2 separate regions of the Homo sapiens genome follow, and region 1 is linked to region 2. Evidence: promoter capture Hi-C in 16 types of primary human blood cells and fetal thymus (Javierre and others, 2016). All regions are on one chromosome and are shown on one strand. The core of a region is centred on a gene start or on the middle of the fragment in contact, and the rest is flanking DNA. Distances in the headings are between cores, read along the strand shown.

Region 1 (6,976 bases), core at 3,255-5,754, 420 kb after region 2:
GGTTAACTGGTCCTCACCCTGGCTGTAGGTGTCTGATAATACAAGGATTTGGACCCAAGTTGTAGGTAGCTCCTATCTTAAGGCTCCTGCTCAGACCCTAAGGGAGTTTCCTGGAAACCCTGAGCTCTGTTGCTATAGGGAATTGGCTCTACTCTAAGTGGCAACCAGGGAGAGTCTTGGGCTCTGAGGAGAAAAGAACTTTGCAAGTCTCAAGAAAGATTGAGTGATTCTTTAAGTTCTCATTTGGAATTTATTTTCGCCTTTCTAAGAATGCAATACATCTGGTTATTGACCTTTTAATATGTTCTGCATAGAATGAGGCTAATAAATATGGGTTATAGCTTACCACCTTCATTACCCTCCTCATAAGCCCACTTTTTATTTATTTATTTTTTTTGAGATAGAGTCTTGCCCTATTGCCCAGGCTGCAGTGCAATGGCATGATCTTGGCTCACTGCAACCTCCGCCTCCCGGGTTCAAGTGATTCTCCTGCCTCAGCCTCCTGAGTAGCTGCATCCCACTTTTTTATGAATTGGGTTCTGAAGAAAAAAAAATTCCAGACAACTTCACAAGTTGGCCAAGAAATGTACAATTTCATTTTTAAATTATAAATTATATTTTTATGGTTTAAGAAAAAATTACATGACTAACATTTTTTAAATTACATAGACAATAGTTACTGGGTCTAACTCTAGTTAGATTAGTGGACCTATATCTAATATTCAGTAATGATTGGTTTCTTTATGCTGGGATTAAGCTGAATTGCTTGGGGCTAGTGAGAAAGCATATGAGAGGACATTTGACAAAAACTAAGAGTGAAATATTGAGAGAAAGTAAAAGCTGTTCTTTGCTAGGTGGTCAGGAATGTATGGGAAGCCCATAGACATAAGGACAGGTGTTTCAGAGGTGGAGGTGCTCAGATCACAAAACCAAAGGGGGAAGTGTGTTCTCTAGATATTTTGCAGGTGAGGAACCTGAAGCCCAGAGAAGTGAACTGTCTTGACAAGGTCATATAGCTGGTTAGTGGCAGGGCCTAGATGAAAACTGACCTCTCTTGATTCAAAGTCCATTGCTTTTTCTAATACCCCACATTATCCTGTGATTAAATACAGAGCTGGTGATTTCGGTGACTATAGAGCCACACAGATAAGGACCAGAATAGAAAGAGTGGTAAAATTATATGAGAAAATGACAAAAACAGACTTACAAAACTAAAGTAATAGGTCAGATTCGTCTTTCTAGATTAAAGGAAACAATAGCTATCTCCTAAGGCTGGGGAGGGATGGGTTAGTGGCAGAAGAGTGCACTGGGCCCTTACTTGGTATTTGGTTCAAGAAATAGTATAATAATCCAACTTTAAGAAAAACCTTCAGGTAATATTTTTCACATACACACAAGGCAAAGTGCGAAAAGGTCTGATTAAGAAGCATACCCAATAGAAGGTTCTAGCACATTGTTAAATAATTGTATTACCCTTCTAATTGCCAGGGAAGTGGGTGGAGATCTGTTAAAACTTTACAATAGACAAGGCGCAACAAGGAATCTAGATAACAGCCAACAGAACTAGTTATAAAAAGATTAGAAGCACTTGAAGTTGACCAAACAGCAGGAGCAGATAACACACATCTGCAAGTTCTAAAGCCATAAGCAAGGCGACTGGTGAAGCTAGGACGTGCATACAGAGCACTAAGGGGAAGGTTGAATAAGAATCTGAGGCATTCAGGTGTCAACTGTCTAAGATATTTCAGTAAGCCACTTTCTAAACAAAGCTGATCAGAACAACTGGAACTCAGTTTTCTCATATGTGTGAAAAAGAGCACCCTAGGGACCTATGATTCATAAAACTTCAGTGTAGTGTTCCAAAGAGGTAGGAAATAAACACACAGATTATTGAGCAGCTCCTATAACCAGGCACTGCATTAGACTCTTCTAATTCTAAGAATCTGCTGGCTTAGTGGTATTATCCCTACTGTATAAAGTCTCAGAAAAATTGATTAATTTGTACAAGGCCATTCTACTAATGACTTAGTGATGGAGCAGGAATTACTACCTGGTTATGTCCAATGTTTATCCATTTCTCATACAGCACAAAGTAGATGGGTGGGAAGAGTCATAACTTCTTGCCTACTCTGTCAAGGTTCTAGCGGAAGAAACCTGGAGAAGGCAGGTCAGTTCATCCTGTGTTGGTGAATGTGTTCGTGATCCTTCAGGAAATGATGTTCTACAAAATTTCCCAGATAGTTTTTAGGGGAAACTTGGGAGGAAGTTGTCTGACTCTGGGTCTCAAACATTGTGCAGATACCAACAGTTCCCTCATAACTGGAGGATAAAATTTAGTCTTCAAACTCCACGTTCTGCCATTCAAGACCCTTGCAAGTTTGCCCACGCTCTTTTGTTTAAACAGTTTTTAGTGTGAACTACAGCAAATACACAGACAAGTATGTAAAACGTGTGTACAATTTTAGAAATGATAATTTATAAGACTCTAGTTATATTCTAGGTACAATGACCAGCACTTTCTTCTCATTATATTCAATCTTCACAAAAACTTAAGGTTTGTGAAGGAAATAAAGACCTATTTTATGAAGGAAAAAGCAGAGTCTGAGGATGAGTGGGTGGTTGGGGGTAGTTTAAGCAACTTGCTGAAAGTCATACAGCCATACAGCTAGAAAGAGGGAAAGGGATTTGAACCGTGGTCTGCTGGATGGTAGAATTGTCTACTTCCTGTTTGGCAAAACATGTCCTCCCAATGCCACTTAGGTACATCATCCACTTTGCCCTGCCCCATCACCATCTCCATGAGGCACAGACTTCGCCACAGAGGCTGTCCATTACAGTTATCCAGATCCCAGGTGAGGGAAAATGGTCATGGGCAGAAACTGTCAGGCAGCCAAGACTCATGCATGGAGGTAGTGACCATTTTGCTACTGCTTATTTGCTTTAGAGCAAAAAAAAAAAAAAAAAAAAGTCATGGTTGAGAACCACATATTTGATTGTTCCCTAACAGAGAACACAGAGAAGTTGTCAGCATAGGTATATTCCAAATACTTCATGAAACTAAAAAATTAAGTGTTTTTTATCTGAGGTTCAAATCTAATTGTGCACTTTGTAATTTATTTGCTAAATTTAGCAATCCTAGTCCTTAAAGAGAAAGGCTTCCCATTATCTCCCATTCTTGGAAGCAAAAAATAATTGAAAATAGCCAAAATAAACACAGAGCAAGAAGCCCAGAAGCAAGAGTCCGTGATCCCTAAATATGGTTTATTTAGGATAAAATTATTTGGTCCCTCAGTTCTCCCTCCAGCTCTGCTGCTTGAGACACCACAGTTGAAAGCAGGTGCTTTAGGGAAAGGATTCATGTGAACTGGAAGTTGGACTTCTAACTCTGAGTGAGTTTGAGCAACCCCTTAATCTCATCGAACCTAGTTTTCTCATTTGTAAAATTAAAACACTAGACCAGGTAACCTCTGAGGTCTTTCCAATTCTAAAAATATTCTCCTTTGTATAAAAGAAGTGAGGAGAAATCAACATTTGCTGAACATATATTAAATGGTCAGTATTGTACAGGATAGTTTAATACATTATTTAATCCTCAAAATAATTCAGAGAAGCAAGTTCTACTATCCTTGAAATCAATGCATGGCAATTCTTGAAGGCAACCTTTATTTTTTCTCTTCTCTCATTTCAAGGAAAGACTACATAGATGCATTACAGAAACGAGTTAAATTCCACAACACGTTAACTAGACATGGTTAGTTCACTGATGATTTGGTGGGGTGACAAAGTACCGATAACATACCAGATTTTCTGCTCTTAATTATGAATTTCCAATCTGCCACTAGCTATCAATTCTCAAATTCTTTTCTTCCAAACCAGTCTGTTGTCCCTAGACTCCTTCCTCAATGGGATTAGACTCAGTAATAAAGTCGAATTCAGGGCATTTTCAAAGTGTGGAGAGGCTGTTTGAACTGGCCAATTGTCACTGAGAACTATCTTTCAAGCACTGAACATCTGTTGGTAAAAAGCTTCTGGCTGACTTTCAAGAGAAACTCTTTAACTTCTATTGATAAGTAGTTCAGTTAAGTAGAAAAAAAAAACCCTGTGAGATTAATCAAATAGAAAATACACACAAAAGCGTTGTATTCTACAATATGCCTTAGTGTTATGCTGCAATTATAATTGGGTTAAAATGGCAAAGATGAGGAGCATGAAATCATTTTAGGAAGCCTTTTGAGTAAGGCTCTTTTCTTTCAGCATAATACTCTTGAAATTAACCCACAGTTGTGCATATCATTAGTTTGTTACTTTTTGTTACTGGGTAGTATTCTATTGTATGAATGTACCACAGTTTATCTATTCATCCTTTTTGACCATTTAGGTTGTTTCCAGCTTTTGGTGACTGTGAATAGAACTGTAGAAATAAAAGATAAAAATTTCATATAGGTTTTTGTGCAGACATATGTTTTTATTTTTTGTGGGTAAATACTTAGAAATGGAATTGCTACATTGTATGGTAATTTTTTGTTTAATGTGTAACTAGCTGCTAAACTTTTTCTCAATGTGATAGTACCATTTTACATTTCCACCAGCAGTGTATGAGAATTTCAGGTGCTCTGCATCCCAATCAACATTTGCTATTGTCATTCTTTTAAATTAGCCACTCTGATAGGTGTAATAAATTAGCCACTCTGATGCGTGTATCATATGATGGCTTCAACTTGCATTTCTCTAATAAGTAATGACATTGAGCATCTTTTCTTGTGCTTATTTGCCATCTGTGTATCTTCTTTTGTAAGTTATCTATTCAAACCTTTTGCCTATTTTTTAAAAATTGTGTGGTTTGCTTTCTTATGAGTTTTGAGAGTTCTTTTATATATCCTGGATACAAGCCCTTCATCAGATATGTGATTTGTAAATATTTTTCCCACCTTGTGTCTTGCTTTTTAATTTTCTTAACATTGTCTTTCAGATCTTTGAAAGTGCAGAAGCTTTTAATTTAATGAAGTCTAATTTACCATTTTTTTCTTTTTGATTCATGATTTCAGTGTCCTAAGAAATCTTTGACTAACTCAAGGTAACCAAGATTTTCTCCTTTTCCTTTTTTCTACATATTTTATCATTTTAGCACTTATGCTTAATTCTGTGAGCCATATGGAGTTAATTTTTTAAATATGGTGGCAAAGGTTCACATTTTTTTCATATGTATACCCATTTGTCCAATACCATTTATTGAAACAACTCTATTCCCCATTTAATAACCTTGACATCATTGTTGAAAATCAAACGGCTGTGTGGGTCTATTTTTGATTCTCTTCTATGTTTGTCCTTATGCAAACACCACATTGACTTAATTAGTGTAGCTTTTTACTAAATCTTAAAATCGAATGGTGAAAAACCTCTAACGTTTAGTATACTCTCCTAGAGTGTTCAAATTTGGAAATACTAGGAGGGGATATTTCTTTTTCCCAGAAAAGGACTCTGAACACTTGTACATATTCTGGAAGCATCCTTTGCTTCCTGCAGTAATTTATATCTGTTACTACTAAGCTTTAAGTATTCCAAGAGTTCATTATAAGTTCTTGCTTTCATGTGCTCTTGCAAATGAACCCCTTAAACAGATCACTTCACGTCCATGATGTGTGTAATTCGTCATGGAAGTCACTAATCCCAGATCTCCATGGAAGGCAAGTGGTAGCATTATTGAACAGCTCGACTTTTCTGACTGTCAAATTATCTTGCTCACCCATGGTTTCCTGATGCTTGGAACTCTGGCTTCTCACCTCAGAGGCTTTGTAAACAAAACAGTTTGTATAGGTTGCATTTGAAATGCAAAAAGCTTACTTTTTAAGTGTTGGGAATTCCAGGGAACATAAAATCACTTTCACCAATTCAATCTATAAAAATGAGAAATCAAGAACGTTAGTCATGCAAACTATAAAGTCACAAATCAAGGAGATTTCTGCTGAAGACAGAGCTTTATCCTTGTTTTTTGGATGCAGGGACCCTCCTTTCTATCACCAAAGGAATATTTTGGACAGAAACAGTTCATTTGCTAGGGTATTTTCAAATTGGAAGAAGTGTGCCTTATATCACACTTACCAGTCTATATTGTCCAATCTATCATTTTCTCTCCCCAAACTAGAAAAGGGCAAAATGTGATAAATATGAGTTTAATGGTGAGTAACAAGTATCTTTGCATAATAACAGCTCATTTGTTATCAATATTATTGAAGGAATAGAACAAAGTATCAGCTTAAAAATTCAACCTTTTTAACAAAACGAATTAACACTTCCTTGTCTTGGTGATGGATAATGCTGAACATAATTTAATCTCACCTAGTAACTCAGGGACTACTGAGGGTATACTGTTGTTTGCCCCTGCATTAAATAGTCCCTAATTATTGTGCTTTTTACTTACTGTATTCACTTAATAACTCCCCTCCCCTGCTGTTGGTACGCCTTTTATTTTGCGATGAGCTAATGAGATTATTCAACAGCTCTGTTAGATATGAGATAATCGAAGCTTGCTGGAATTGTGAGAAAAGTAAGAGCACATGAGTTTTGTGTGAGGCCCAAAGGCTTCTTCTATGAGCTCATGATTTTTTCTCATTAAACATTCTGACATGGTTTGCCTTCTACATGACTCAGAAGTTCTTGGCTTTGTAGTAGATTGTCAAAGTTGCTGGAAATGACCAATCGTGTATGCATGTGTGTGTGTCCGGTGTGGTGTCTACGTGCTAAGTATGTGAGAAGTAAATACATGAATATATACACATAATATAAATTTTAAGTTCCACAAGAGCATTTCTATATGCCTGTATCTATATAAACTTTCAATAAATGTTTGAATTAATTAAAAACTGTATATATTTTGTATTTCTTGATTGGTGACCACCATAGCAACTTCAACAATTTTAGAATTCCTGCTGCCATGTGGGAAATGTGTAATGTCCACCCTGGAACAATGCCCCAATTC
Region 2 (6,632 bases), core at 1,230-3,729:
GTCAGGAGGTAAACGGGATATCTTTGTACCTTCCTCTCAATTTTGCTGTAAAACTAAAAATGCTTAAAAAAAAAAGTCTTAAAAAGAAAATCAAGAGTTAAGATGTACAGAATTGAGTGTCAGATGACTGAAGTTTTGGTCCCAGTTTAAAGTCTTACCCCTCCTCTATGCAATGAGGAGACTGAATTAGACAATCCGTGTCTTCTACCTCTTAATTTCTTGTTCTTAATCCCAATCTTTGAAGTGCACACAAAATGTTACCAGAATACTCTGTGCCATAGCTGCATACCAAAAGTAGTAAGTAGAGCCCAGAGCTATCAAAATGTTCTAGTAAATGAAGCTAATTTGGTAAGTTTTTCAAATGTTTTAGAGGAATGTTTCAACCAAAACGTTTTTTCAGTAATATGAAACATTTTAGGTCTGTATATGAAACTGCATCCAAGGTCAGGTGATCTCTAAACATTCAAGGCCCAAGGGTATTAGAAGAGCCCAAAATACTCAAACACCTAAGGATGCTCCTATGCTGAAATGGTGTTATGCTACATAATTTCAACGCCATGACAATCAAGATAGCACAACAAAGTCTCACCTACAGCCAGGAGAAAGAACAACCCGCTATCTTGTAATCAAGATTCACTACCACAGTGGTTCCTAGACATTTTCCATTATAAAGACTATACAGAACTACAAAGTTTTTAAGATGGTGAAATGGTTTGGATCTGTGTCCCCGCCCAAATCTCATGTCGAATTGTAATCCCCAATGTTGGAGGTGGGGCCTGGTGGGAGGTGACTGGATCATGGGGGCGGAGTTCTCATGAATGGCTTAGCATCCTCCTCTCCCCAGCACTGCATAGAGATGATTTCTCAACAGATGCGGTTGTTTAAAACTGTGTAGCAACTCTCCCCGTCCCTCTCTTGGTCCCGCTCCTGCCATGTAAGACGCCTGCTCCTGCTTTGCCTTCCACCATGAGTAACAGCTCCCTGAGGCCTCCCCAGAAGCAGATGCCGCTAAGCTTCCTGTACAGCCCATAGAACCGTGAGCCAATTAAACACTTTTCTTTATAAATTACCCAGCCTCAGGTTTTTCTTTATAAAAGCCATGCAAGAACTGGCTACTACAGATGGCAAGTGTCATCATTTCGTAAATGTTAAGTCTCCTTTGGTGTGAGACACACACAGCTTGCAAATAATTGTTGAATAAAAAAGCGAGTTCAAGAAACGTAGCACATTCGTTTTACGTGCATTTTCCTCATTTTGCTACTCAGTGGCTAAAACTTTGTCACAGGCAAGCCCAGAAATTGTCAGGCTGCAACCTAAGCTTATTGTTATTTCATTATGTTTACTACTCATTCAATCTGATTCATAACCTGAGTTTTTCAGCCCCCTCCCCGCCCCAGCGGTCTAGAATACTTTCCTCCCATCTCCGCTTCTCAAAAGCACCTTTTCTTTTGAATGCCTTTAGAATCTCTAACAACTATCAAGGACCATTTCCTACTCTTTCTGCTGTAAGTTATTTATGCATCTCTTTTATCTCATTCACTAGAGTAATAATTTTCATGCCCAGTACTCGCTCACACATCTTGCCTTTTGTGATTTCAATTAATCTGTAAGGTTGTAGATAATAATGATCCCCTTTTATAAACGACGGCACAGAGAAGAAAAGTAACTTGTTCTAGGTCACCCAACTTCCGACGGAACAAAACTGACATTCCAGTTTTGTGTTGGACTCGAAAGCCAACTATTTTCACGCCATTCATTCCCTCACAGTGTCTATGGGGGCCAGGTCCTACAGGGCGCTGGAGACACGAAAGCAAATGCTGCCATCCCATTTTCAAACGGGAGCCTGCTTGTCGCTAAAACCAGGCGCGCTGCTGGCTCTCCGGCACAGGGACCGCGTCGAGGCCTCTGTGCCTCCCTCCCACTTGGGTGCGCAGGAGAGGGGTGCGGACCTGGGGCGGCCGATACCAAGGGGCGGGTGAGTCGGATGCGTCCAAGGGCCTAAGTCTTCGGAGTTACATGGCGGGGCCAGGTGTGGGGGGGGTTCCCCGAGCCCTCGCGGTTCTAAGTGGGCACTGGGGGCCCGCGTACAGCAGGCAAGAGTGCAAACCAGCAGCGCCAGAAAGAGCGACGAGGTGAGGGAAGAAAAAAGGGGCGGGCAAGAGAGAGCTGGGAACCCTAAAGCGCCAACTGCGTGCGCGGCGCACGCGCATCTGGGATCGGCGGAGGGTGCTGGGTCTCCAGGCCCCACGTCTGAGGGCTGCCGCTTGCCCTCCGGCCCGGCCGGGAACAGCGAGGGTTCTCGCTGTCCTGCCGCCGGGCCCTGCGTCGCCCCACTGTTTTCCCGGCTGAGTACTCACCACCCGATTGTCCCGCTTCCCCATGGTGCTGGATCGAGCGCACAGTAGCACGCCGAGGGAAACCGGGCCGGAGAGACTGCCGAAGAGGGCCTGCCGCAGGTCCTCTTGCCGCCTCCCCACTCCGCCTAGAGAGCGGCACCACGCGGACTCGACGGCCGCGCTCTGCTACAGCGCCCCCTATCTCTGTGGAGGACAGGCCGGCTCCAGAGATCGCTGCAGTTGGCGGAGCGCCTGCAGGAGTCCGGTCGTTCATTAGGCACCCAAGAGCAGGCGACGCTGCGCTTCTGCACCGGAGCCCCACCAAGGCAGCTCGCTTCAGTTTGGCCTTGGATTGTTTTGCTTTCTTCCATTCTTTTTTTTTTTTTTTTTTTTTTTTTTTTTTTTAGACAGACTCTCGCTCCGTCGCCCAGGCTGGAGTGCAGTGGCACGATCTAGGCTCACTGCAGCCTCCACCTCCCGGGTTCAAGCGATTTTCCTGCCTCAGCATCCCGAGTAGCTGAGATTACAGGCGGCCGTCAACACGCCGGGCTAAATTTTTTGTATTTTTAGTAGAGACAGGGTTTTACCACGTTGGCCAGGCTGGTCTATAACTCCTGACCTCAAGTGATCCGCCCGCCTCGACCCAAAGTGCTGGGATTACAGGCATGAGCCACTGCGCTTGGCCTTTCTTCCATTCTTGATACACTGAAATACTCATTCGAGGGGACACAAAGATTCTCCCGATGCTTATTTTGTGCTTGACAGAGTGCAAGTGCTGGGGACAAAGTGAGGACCAAAGAGCCTTGGTCCCTCACGGAGCCCATCAGCTGGTGGGGGGAAAGGCAGTGCTGTCATAGACGCTGCTAACGAAATCACCCTTTAATTTCAATCCCATTCATTCATCACCTGTGCATTCATTTCACACTAATTTTTGAACATGTAGTTTGTACAGTTTTCACTAACTGGGTGGCTGGAAGCTGGAGCTGGGTAGGGCACAAAGATGATTAAGAAAAATCCCTATCGTCAAGGAGCCTGTTTATAAACTCGTAAGGGCAATAAACACACACAGGGCCAACTTTACTGCATAGCATATCGTAATATTGGCACTACTGCACTGCAACTTTAAGGAAGATGATCTGGGCTCCAGAGAAGATAATCATATTTAGTAAGTATTTATAGATAAAGCGACCCCTCTGGGTTCATCTTAGCAAGTATCATTAGGAAGTAGTTGAAAATCAATTAGGATCTTCTCCGGACTCTTGGAAATGGCAAAATGGGAATTACACTAATTACATACAAGAACATGCTTTAAAATCATCTTTCCCGATCTCTGCCTCCCTCCCTCCCTGCATTTTTCATGCTACACTATATGACAGATGCTCCCAACTACCATCTTCTGTCTCAAAACTTTTCCAAACTCTCACATGCAGTCCTTGGTGGTTCTGCTCCCTACTAAGTGTTGATTCTTCCTCAGTAACCCACTTTCCAAAATGAGGCCTCCAGTCTCTCATTTCTCCTCCTCCTCCATTACCCCCGACTTAAGCTGGGGACTCTGACTGAAGACAGGCTTCTTTTTATACACAAGAGGAAGAGGAGAACCTATTAATATTAAGTTATTCTTTCTTTCCTGGCTTATTTTTCATGTTTTAAATATTCTAGGCATTTGACAGATATTATTTTTAATACTCCAACATGATAAGCATGATAATACCTGTGAGAGAATATAGTTTTTTTTTTCCCTCTTCAGCTCCTTCTTACCTTTCACTTCCTTGGTTGGCTGATTGTACAGAACACAGAGATTTTTAAAAATATGGTATAAGTCAACAGAAAGGTTGTGTTTCCTTTAGAAGTCTCTCTCTCTCTGCGAGTGTACACAACCCCTCCTGGATGAAACGTGAATCCCTGGGGGGACAGAGAAACAAGAAAATGACCAGGGGCCTGTGAAGATAAGGAAGATGGCAAGAGCTATCGGGAGCTCATCTGAGTGGACTACATAAAGAACAAATCAGTCCAAGACTTCTCAGGATATAATTCAGTGACAGTAGAAATCTTTACACATTCTCTGCACATGTGTGATCTGCTAATAAATACATTTCTGTCCTAGCAGTGGGCCTACATGCCCTCCCGAATGTTCTAGGCATAACCAGGAGATTACATTCCATTTTGTGGATGAGAAAAACCGAGGCGAAGGGAAGCCGAGTAATTTGTGCCAGCTTCCACAGCAAGAAAGCAGAGAAGCTGGGGATTCAAACACAGGTGTGTCAAACATGAAAGCATTTACAAGATGCAGTCTCTATTAAATACACACATAGACACACAGGCACGCGTAGACACACACACACACACACACACACACACCCACCCACACCATGAAAGCATATGCTTTCCTTACAAAATCACACTGCCTTTGGGAGGGGAGAGAAGAGAGGGAGGATTGAGAAGTGGCATTTCAGGTGGATTGTGACCCTGGGCCAGCTTCCCTCAGAGGAACTGAGAGGGAAGGACATTACAGAGGGAATAGCCCGCGTAAAAGGAGTGGTGATGTGGTCAGGTTTGGCAGCATAGAACACTTATGATAGAAGGGAACAAGGCTGGAAAGGTACACTGGGCCTGGAGGCAAAGGACCTCGAATGCCAAAGGAAGAAGTTATATTTTATTCTGCAGGCAGAGCCTTTTTTTTTTTTTTTTTTTTTGAGATAGAGTTTTGCTCTGTTGCCCAGGCTGGAGTACAGTGGTGAGATCTCGGCTCACTGCAACCTCTGCCTCCTGGGTTCAAGCGATTCTCCTGCCTCAGCCTCCCAAATAGCTGGGATTACAGGCATGCACCACCACACCCAGCTAATTTTTGTATTTTTAGTAGAGACAGGGTTTCACTATGTTGGCCAGGCTGGTCTCGAACTCCTGACCTCAGATGATCCACCCTCCTCGGCTTCCCAAAGTGTTGGGATTACAGGCATGAGCCACCACACCCAGCTGTAGAGCCTTTTAAAAATTAATATTATTTTAATTGACAAATCACTGTATACATTTATGGAGTACAATATGATATTTTGTTATATGTATACAATGTGGAGTGATTAAACAAATTAACATATCCATCACCTTGCCTACCTATTTTTTTTATGGTGAGACATTTGAAACTTACTCTTGGTTATTTTGAAATATATGATACATTATTATTGACCATAGTCACCCTGCTGTGCAGTAGATCTCAAAACTTATTGTTCTTGTCTATTTAAATCTTTGTACTTTTTGATCCGCAGCTCCCACTTCCCTCCCTTCCCACTCCTCCAGCCCCTGATAACCAAATTTTACTCTCTACTTCTATGAGTTCAGCCTTTTTAGATTCCACATATAAGTGAGATCATGCAGTATTTGTCTTTCTGTGCCTGACTTATTTCACTTAATATAACATCCTCCAGATCTACCCATGTTCTTGCAAATGAGATAAAGCTGTTTAAGCAGGGTAGTAACATAAGCATTGATAAAAGGCAAAGCTGTAAATAGTAACAGTCTAATAATAATAATAATTCTCTGGGGCAGGATTTTTCAGCTTGAATAACAAAGATTATAACTCAGGTGGCATCTTTAGCGATGAACTTGGGTCTATATCCAAATTAAACAATATAGTGGATTGTCCTATATATTTTTCTTTTTCTTTTTTCTTTTTTTTTTTTTCTTGAGACAGAGTCTCGCTCTGTCACCCAGGCTGTAGTGCAGTGGTGAGATCTCAGCTCACTGCAACCTCTGCCTCCCGTGTTCAGGTGATTCTCCTGCTCCAGCCTCCCAAGTAGCTGGGATTACAGGCACACGTCACCACAATGCCTGGCTAATTTTTGTATTTTTAGTAGAGATGGGTTTTCACCTTGTTGGCTAGGCTGGTCTTGAATTCCTGACCTCAAGTGATCCGCCCGCCGCGGCCTCCCAAATTGCTGGGATTACAGGCATGAGCCACCAAGCCCAGCCTGATTTTCCTATTTTTTTTTGTTATTGTTGTGTGGGTATTTGAGATTTTAAACAATGGTGAGAGATACAGAAACTCAACCCACAAACCCAAGTATGTTGTTTTGGCATGCATGTCACTAGACTGGAAATGAAAACATGGAGCTTTTGTGTTTGAAGACAACAGCCGTTGTGTTTATCCAACTATATTAAATGACAGAGCAAAAGACAGGAAACAAGTTAAATATCCATCAAAAGGGTTAAAGTATGGTATGTCCATGTAATGGCAAATTATGCAGTTATTTAGAAAGTGATGTAGAGCTGTATGTGTTGATAGGGAAAAATGGCCACTAT

The links. The method cuts DNA at HindIII sites, captures the fragments that hold promoters and counts their contacts. A CHiCAGO score of 5 or more calls a contact.
Region 1: a fragment that was not itself captured here is called in contact with the fragment with the promoter of FAM133B in region 2 in 1 of 17 cell types (M1 macrophages); the score reaches 5.8 in M1 macrophages.

The regions. Positions count from the first base shown.
Region 1 is chr7:93,005,073-93,012,048 of GRCh38, forward strand. No RefSeq gene overlaps it. Among named protein-coding and RNA genes, the nearest start is that of SAMD9, 110 kb to the right of the region's middle. RefSeq lists a cis regulatory region at 1-269. The HindIII fragment of the contact is 963 bases long and covers 4,024-4,986 here.
Region 2 is chr7:92,587,911-92,594,542 of GRCh38, forward strand. FAM133B (family with sequence similarity 133 member B) reads right to left here and starts at 2,480. Exons shown (of 11, transcript NM_152789.4): 1 at 2,358-2,480. The coding sequence starts at 2,381. LOC105375397 (a long non-coding RNA gene) reads right to left here. Exons shown (of 3, transcript XR_927744.3): 3 at 4,110-4,238. RefSeq lists enhancers at 2,208-2,267, 2,358-2,637. The HindIII fragment of the contact is 8,062 bases long and covers 1,317-6,632 here.